3 separate regions of the Homo sapiens genome follow, and regions 2 and 3 are each linked to region 1. The links are contacts of gene promoters, found by promoter capture Hi-C in blood cells and fetal thymus (Javierre and others, 2016). All regions are on one chromosome and are shown on one strand. Each heading gives the region's core, a stretch centred on a gene start or on the middle of the fragment in contact. The rest is flanking DNA. Distances are from core to core; before and after follow the strand shown.

Evidence for each region. The method cuts DNA at HindIII sites, captures the fragments that hold promoters and counts their contacts. A CHiCAGO score of 5 or more calls a contact.
Region 2: a fragment that was not itself captured here is called in contact with the fragment with the promoter of FAIM in region 1 in 1 of 17 cell types (total B cells); the score reaches 5.4 in total B cells.
Region 3: a contact is called between a fragment that was not itself captured here and the fragment with the promoter of FAIM in region 1, in 2 of 17 cell types (total CD4 T cells and naive CD8 T cells). The highest score is 6.2, in total CD4 T cells.

Annotation. Positions count from the first base shown.
Region 1 is chr3:138,607,456-138,610,085 of GRCh38, forward strand. FAIM (Fas apoptotic inhibitory molecule) reads left to right here and starts at 1,316. Exons shown (of 6, transcript NM_001033031.2): 1 at 1,316-1,482. RefSeq lists a silencer at 1,404-1,863 and an enhancer at 1,964-2,053. The HindIII fragment of the contact is 4,797 bases long and covers 1-2,630 here.
Region 2 is chr3:140,954,772-140,957,401 of GRCh38, forward strand. SLC25A36 (solute carrier family 25 member 36) reads left to right here. Exons shown (of 7, transcript NM_001104647.3): 2 at 1,756-1,920. Among named protein-coding and RNA genes, the nearest start is that of SLC25A36, 14 kb to the left of the region's middle. The HindIII fragment of the contact is 5,297 bases long and covers 1-2,630 here.
Region 3 is chr3:140,929,456-140,932,085 of GRCh38, forward strand. No RefSeq gene overlaps it. Among named protein-coding and RNA genes, the nearest start is that of SLC25A36, 11 kb to the right of the region's middle. The HindIII fragment of the contact is 1,926 bases long and covers 378-2,303 here.

The DNA of each region.
Region 1 (2,630 bases), core at 66-2,565:
CGCATGCCACCACGCCCGGCTAATTTTTGTATTTTTAGTAGAGCTAGGGTTTCACCACGTTGGCCAGGCTGGTCTCAAACTTCTGACCTCAGGCAATCCGCACCTGGCCTCCCAGAGTGCTGGGATTACAGGTGTAAGCCACTGTGCCCGGCTGTTTTTTTTTTTTTTTTTTTTTGAGACAGAGTCTTGCTCTTCGCCCAGGCTGGAGTGCAGTGGCTCAATCTCAGCTCACTCCAACCTCCACCTCCCAGGTTGAAGCGATTCTCCTGCCTCAGCCTCCCAAGTAGTTGGGACTACAGGCATGCACCACCACGCCCCTCTAAGTTTTATATTTTCAGTAGTGACGGGGTTTTGCCATGCCTGCCTCAGCATCCCAAAGTGCTGGGATTACAGGCGTGAGCCACTGAGCCCGGCTGTTTCTTTTTGTGTGTGTTTTTTTTAATGAAACAGGGTCTCGCTCTGTTGCCCAGGCTGGAGTGTAGTGGTGCAATCACAGCTCTCTGCAGCCTCTACCTCCCTTCAGGGCCCAAGCAATTCTCCCACCTCAGCGTCCCAAGTAGCTAGGATTACAGGCCTGAGCCGCTAATTATTTTCTTTTCTTCTTTCTCATTCTCTCTCTCTCTTTTTTTTTTTTTTTACCATGTTGCCCAGGCTGGTCTTGAACTCCTGGACTCAAGAGATCCGCCACTCTGCCTCCCAAAATGCCGTGATTACAGGTATGAGCCACCACACCCAGCAATGCTGCAAGTCTTATGGGCCAGGATAGTGTAATCTAAGAAATGATATATGAAGAACTCTCACAATAGGGAAGAGGTGAGGAGTGTCCAGGCAGAGAGAAGAGCATTTGCAGAGGCCCTGGGCGAGAAGAAACCTGCATCCTTTAAGGACCTAAATGAAGCCAAGCAGGCAGAGGCTAGATCACACATGGGGGCTTCATGCCCACCTTAAGTAGTTTGGGTCTTTAAAAAAGGAATGAGACTCATAAAGAGGTTTTAAGGAGCGAATGCTATTGCTGCCATGAACAGATATTCCTTCCCCATAGCTGCAGAGCAGGCACAGGGCTGTTTTTGCCCGCCAGTATGTCCCCACCGTCTAGCCCAGAGCGGGGCCAGCGGCCGGCTCCTACCCACACTTGCTGGCAGGAAGACTGGACGCACTGCGGGACATGGTGATGTCCTGGGTTGGGGCTGAGGAAGGCCTATGCGCGGAGGGTGCGGCCTTCGGCTAAGGCAGAGGACCAGGGTTGGGTCCGTGGCGGCGGGAGGGGTGGCCTCCTGCGCTGGTCGCCCCAGGGGACCTGAGAGGCGCGACAAACAGTCGGCGCGTTTGGTACTCGCGCCTGCAGAGCTTTCAACCTCCGCGCCGGCTGCGCCTGTTTCTCGGCCAGGGGAGCAAGGCCACGCGGCCTACGCAGCCGAGTCGGAACCAACCGGTTGTTTGGTGAAACCTACCCCAGAGCCTCCCGCGGCCCACAGAGCACAGGTGAGGCAGCAGACCGGGTGGGGTCGGTGTCGCGCCTGCGCCCGCCCGGACGCCTCGGGCCCGCCCGCTCCGCACCCTGGAAACCCCTGCACTCAGCCCCCCGGCGTCCCCACGCTCTCGGCCCTGCTGCGCCGGCGGCGGCCATCTCTGGGCGGCGGCGGCGGGCGGTGTTTGCGCGGTCGGTGAGACCCGCGCGGGTGAGACGCTGGGTGAGTTCCGGACGCTTCCAGCCGGCCCGCCGGTGATCCCAGACCTCGGGGCGGGACGCGGCTCCCGCTCACCGCCGGCAAAGGTGGAGGTGCGGCGGGGCGCGGGGCGCGGGGCCAGCCCGGGGCGGTGCGGGGGCGTCCCTGCCTAGCGAGGCCCTGCCCCGCGACCTGCCGCACCCTCCTCCGGCCTGTTCGCGACCTCTAAAGATAATACTTCTCACTGTCGAAAACGTGGAACAGAAAGCAAGGAAGCAAGCAAAGCAGCCGTGCCGCTGCTCCCCAGAGACAAGCTGCGTTAACATGAGGGTGTATATTCTTCCAGATGGTTTTTCCTTGTAACATGAGCGGGGCTTGTTTTTGCAGAACCTGCATCATAAAGTGCTGAAACTCTCTCTCTCTCTCTCTCTCTCTCTCTCTCTCTCTCTCTCTCGACTCTCTCTCTCTCGACTCTCTCTCTCTCTCTCTCGACTCTCTCTCTCTCTCTCTCTCTCTCTCGACTGTACATTCCTGTGTGTCAGGTTGACTACCTCATCCATCCCTGACTCTTGGCATGGCTTTGGACTGTGATTTACTAAATGTAGTTTCTCCCTGATGGTGAGCGTACAAGTGGTTTTCAGTTTTTAGTTATTGCAAAAAGTAATTCATTGAGCATCGTTGTATCTGGGTTTTTGAGCGTGATCATTTCTGTAGAAAGAATCGCACAAGATTCGTTCTAAAACAAGATAGAATCCACGGTCTATACCACAAGGCTTCTGGTATAGATTGTGAAATGGCCCTCAGAAAAGTTATTCTCCTTTTTGTACCTCCAGTAAGTAGCATTTGGGAATACTTGGCTCGAGGAGCTTCCTGAGTGATTTTACTGGAGACCCCCCTCACTTCATAAGGGGCCGGCCCGGAGATGAAGATGTCAACACTTGAGTGTGACTTGCATTATTGGCT
Region 2 (2,630 bases), core at 90-2,589, 2.3 Mb after region 1:
TTCATTTTCTTCTCAGTTTCTTTCATTGTGTTAGCAGTTTCTTTCAGAGTAGAAGTTTTTAGTTTTGATAAGGTCCAGTTTTTCAGTTTTTTTCTTTAATGATTTGTGCTTCTTTTGATGTCCATATAAGAAGTCTGTGCCTAACGCAAAGTTAAAAGATTTTTTTCCAGATGTTTTTTTCCTAGATGTTTTATAGTTTCATCATTTTAAACTTAGGTCTGTGATCCATTTCGAGTTAATTTTAAAATGTACTGTGAGGTAAGGGGCATGTTTTTTATTTTACATATAATGTTCTTTATTTTTTAATAGTTTTGTTGCATAAGTTTTTCACTCTAGTTGCATACAGTTTGGTTTTATCTTATTTTCTTTGTGGCATATACTAATACACCAATATGACATATTTTTATCTTTTAAAATTTCTTTTACATTCTATTCGGAGTGATATTAACATTGCCATGCCTGCTTTCCTTTATATATATGTGTGTGTGTTTTTTTTATTGTGGAGGTAGAATTGTTTAGTGTATTATTGCATGGGTTGCTTTTCTTTTTCTTCTTTTAATGCCCATTTTGAAGGTCCACGTTAACCTGACTCAACTAGCTTTTCTCTTTCACCGCACTAAGAGCTTTTCTGAGTGATTTTCCCTTTTGGTTAGAAAGCAGTTCTAAAGGCTTCACTTGGTAGTTATTAATGTTTTAAGAGGAAATTATTTTCTACTCTTGTATTTTAAAATAAGAAAATAATAATTACTCAGCCTATATCTTACATACCTTTTAAACAGTTCAATGTCATTAAGAGCTTTTGTTATTATTGTTCTGGTGATCAGTCCTTTTATTTAAGTTGGATTCTTCTAACAAGCCTACCTACATTGTACAGTTTTCCACGTGTAGGCCTGACAGGTATTAATTGTGAGACTCAAATGCCAATTTTTTTTCTTTTTTGAGACAGGGTCTCACTCTGTTGCCCAGGCTAGAGTGCAGTGGCCTGATCATATTCACTGTAGCCCTGAACTCCTATGCTCACACAGTTTTCCCACCTCAGCCTCCCGAGTAGCCAGGACTACATGCATGCCCCACCACACCTGGCTAATTTTTTAAACAAATTTTTTGTAAAGTGGTGTCTGGCTATGTTGCCCAGGCTGATGTCAAACTGGCCTCAAACCATCCTCTTGTCTCCTCCCAAAGCTCTGGGATTACATGTGTGAGCCATGCGCCCAGCCCTCAAATGCTGTATTTTTTTGTAGGTGAAATACTTCTGAATATTTGGGGATTTAAAATAAGAGAACTATGTATGGTTAACTATCAGTGAGTTCTTCCTTATTGTTCAGAAGACCATTTCTTCAGTTTGAAAGGACAGGAGTTTGAAAGATAGGATATACTTCAAAGAATGGCCTAGATTTTAACAGAGCCACAAGTTATATATATACATGAGTACTAAATCAAACCTTAGGACAGTATTTAAAGCCATTATGTGACTTACCAGTACAATTTTAGTAACAGCACCTATCAGTTGAAGTGTTTAGCAGTTATTCTTGCCAGATAGTTACTAAGCTGTGTTCATTTTAGTTACTGAAGAAGTTTGTATGAAATCAAATAATGGAATCTCTTAAAAATCAGTTTAGTCATCTAACATTAAAAATTATAAATTTTAGTATGTTGGCAAAGCTCCAGGTACCCATGTGGATTACAGCTCTGGGCATATATACTAACTTATGAATTAAGTAGATAAGCTGTGTTCTTTTTTTTTTTTTTTTTTAGATGTGGTGGTACAGTGGGAGCTATTCTGACATGTCCACTGGAAGTTGTAAAAACACGACTGCAGTCATCTTCTGTGACGCTTTATATTTCTGAAGTTCAGCTGAACACCATGGCTGGAGCCAGTGTCAACCGAGTAGTGTCTCCCGGACCTCTTCATTGCCTAAAGTGAGAGCATAGTATTCAGGAGTGTTTTTTAGTTTGTTTGCGTTAGTGAGTTCCAGATGTTTGTTTACTTATATTCTGCCACATTGAAAATGATTTTTTATAAACCTATTTACAGAAGTTACTCTGAATTGTACTCATAAGGAATGATAATCCCTAATGGAGAAGAACAGTTAGACAGATAAGATAAAGTGTAATTTTACTTCCAAATCATGTGTATTTAGAATATTTCTACATTTATCCAGTGGAGTTTTTTCTAAAGCTATTATAAGTATTTTATTTTGGATTATTCATTTACTTTTGAAATGTGATAATGTTTAATGCTAACTCCTTTCGTGTATATTTTTAATGTTCCAAGTAAGTACATCCAATTAATGATAATCTGTGATTTTTATGTAACCTAAGTACAACTGAGACAGCAGAGTTCTAATGCTGTTCAGTATTTGTTTAACATTTCCTGATGGTTTGGAAAAGATTTGTTTTTACAGTTTGCCATACTTCATTATGTTGCAATTGGATTTGAAATTTCAAAACTATTAAAATTAGGTTTCGTATGTTTATACTTGTAAATAATGGAATGCCTTCGTGTCTGCCTTATCAGCTCAGTGTTTGAACTTAGTTCAGTAGTGTTTATTTTGTAATAGCAAATAAACTCATTCTGTGTATTTACCTTTGTTACTAAAAGGTTTCATCAGCCTTTTCTTTTTTCAAAC
Region 3 (2,630 bases), core at 91-2,590, 2.3 Mb after region 1:
TTATTTTTTCAATAAAAACAAGGAGTTAATGTTAAAAGCAAGATCTAAATGCCAACATGGAAGCTGAGTTTCAAAGCAGTGGCTCTTGATGAGGCCCCTAGATCGGTTCCTAAATGGGAAGCAGGGTACTACTCTATTACCACAGTGTTGAAGAACTAGGCATGTCCATGCAAAATAAAAAAAGTGTGTTACACCCTCTTCTCAATGAAATCTACATATTTCTTTGCAAGGCCTTCCCTGTCTTCTAATACCCTTCTCCTGAAATATAAGAAAAATCATGTTTGTTTGTTTGTTTGTTCATGGCTCCTGGGACACTGTCCTGAGAAATACAAGGAAAATGTTGATTCACTATGGGGAAAATCCCTTTTTACAAGTAAAGCTTCTTATCTAGCCCCAGTACTACTTCTGTATGCTTGCCACCATTGTATCTAAGAACCATTAAACATTATTGATTCAACCTCATTCTTGTTGGAAAAAAAAAAAGAAAAAGAAAAATTTTTGAATACACAGAGTGGCTGATAGGAGTGGCAGCTCCAAAAGGAGATTAAGTCCGCATTAGGGAACAATTGCCCTCATGACTTTTCATCTGGAGCTCAGATATAAGTGAACATTTTGTCTTCTTGGGCACCAGTTTCTCGTTGTTGGGGGTGGTGGCGGTGATTGCAGGAACTACAGCTTACATTTTCAATCAACAAAGAAAACTATTGAAATGGTGTAGAATAGAAGGCAAGAGTGTAGACTTTGGAGCCAAACTGCCCATGTTTCCATCCCAGCTCAGTGACATTCTAGCTAAGTCACCTTAACAAATTCCCTGACCTCTCAGTTTCCTCATCTGTAAAATGGCACCTCATTAGGTTGTAGAGAAGATTAAATACTGGCAAAGGGCTTGCAACAATGCCTCTAAGTGTTGTATAAATCTGAAGCACTTTGAGATAATCACCAGCTTGGCACGGAGAGTACCCAGAAAAACATTTACCCAACTGTTGGGATTCCCCTGAGGAGTGGGATTTAGGAAGAGAGGTTGATGGGAGGATTTTAATTTCTATCTCATGCACCTTTGTACTCTCTGAATTTACTAGTTTTTACTAAAAGTAAAATGAAGAAAAAAATTAAGATAGCATATGGCTAAGAGAATATGAACAAATCTCTTCCAATCTCCCACTAAAATAGTGAAGAAGACATAGAAATAAAATAAATAAGGATAAATAATAGAAATAAAATCAATAAAAATTTTAAAAAATAAGGAATTTTTTTTTGACCCTGGATGCTGACCCAGTGCTAACATTGTGCCAGGTACTGCAGGGAAGAAAAAATGTCAAGCACACTTTTTGGCTTTTCCGAAAAGCCACAGGAATTTTCTGAACCCACAAGACCAATAGAGGCCAAGGTGTAGGGGTTGGGGAGGATGACATCAGTGGTCCATCTAAGCTCTACTCCACCATAGGTATTAACAACTTTTCTTCGGCTTATTAGCAATTAAAAGTTGAGACCAGTACTAACCCGGAAATCTAGTCCCCTTTACTTCATAATGAGTTTGCTTGTTTGTTTTGAGGCTGGCATTGGGTTGAGAACACACTGATGGTGAAGATCCCTTTCTCTTTATTCAATAAGAAACTACAACTCCCAGAAGGCCCCTCAGCAGGAATAGGTGGTGGGAGGAGGTGAAGATGCATCTAATACCAAAGCGTGGTCTTAGTCCCACCCACCCTGCCCTAACGACTTTCTTCTGGAAGCATGTTTGTGCAAGGGCCACGGGCTCCAGAAACCTCACGTTTGTACTGATCTTGATGGAACCACTTGAAGAAGCATTCGAAGAAACACGAATGAGGGGGAAGGTTATAAAAGAGTGGGCAGATCACGCTTGCACCTCAGCAACTCAACCCTGGAATCCCAGCAAGGATGACGACTAAGGCAACCACACCCGAGGGGGCGGTCCCCAGGGATACCAGCCAGAATGTGCAGAGGGCAGAGTCGACTTCCACGGTGGCTTCTGAATGAGGTTCAAAAAGAACCCATCACATTAGGAACTGTCATTACACATAGAAATAACTCTTATTGCACATAAGAACTCTGGCTCCCTCCTTACCAGTTTCAGAAACTTCATTAAGTGTAATTACTATGGCATTCACTATATCAAAAACATGAGCTACAGCTATTGTCTTAAATGAAATACACCTAAAATGGTGCAGCCACTTTGGAAAAGATTGGCAGCACCCCAGAAGGTTAAACATAGGGTTATGTAACCCAGCAGTTCCACTCCTAGGTATATGCCCAAGAGAATTGAAAACATATGCCCATAATAAAGCTTGTACAAGAATGTTCATAGCAGCATTATTCATATAAACGGATAACAAACAAGCAGAAACAATCCAAAGAGCCATCAATTGAGAATGGATAAACAAAATTGATATATACATAAAATGGAATGTTATCAGTCATAAAAGGGAGTGAAGTACTGAAAAACACTGCAACATGAATGAACCTCAAAAACACTATGTTTAGTGAAAGAAATTGGATACAAAAATGCCTCATATTGTATGATTCATTTGTATGAAATGTCCAGAATAGGCAAAACCAAAGAGTTAGAAAGTAGATTAGCCAGGAGATAAAAGAGGGAAATGGAAGTGACT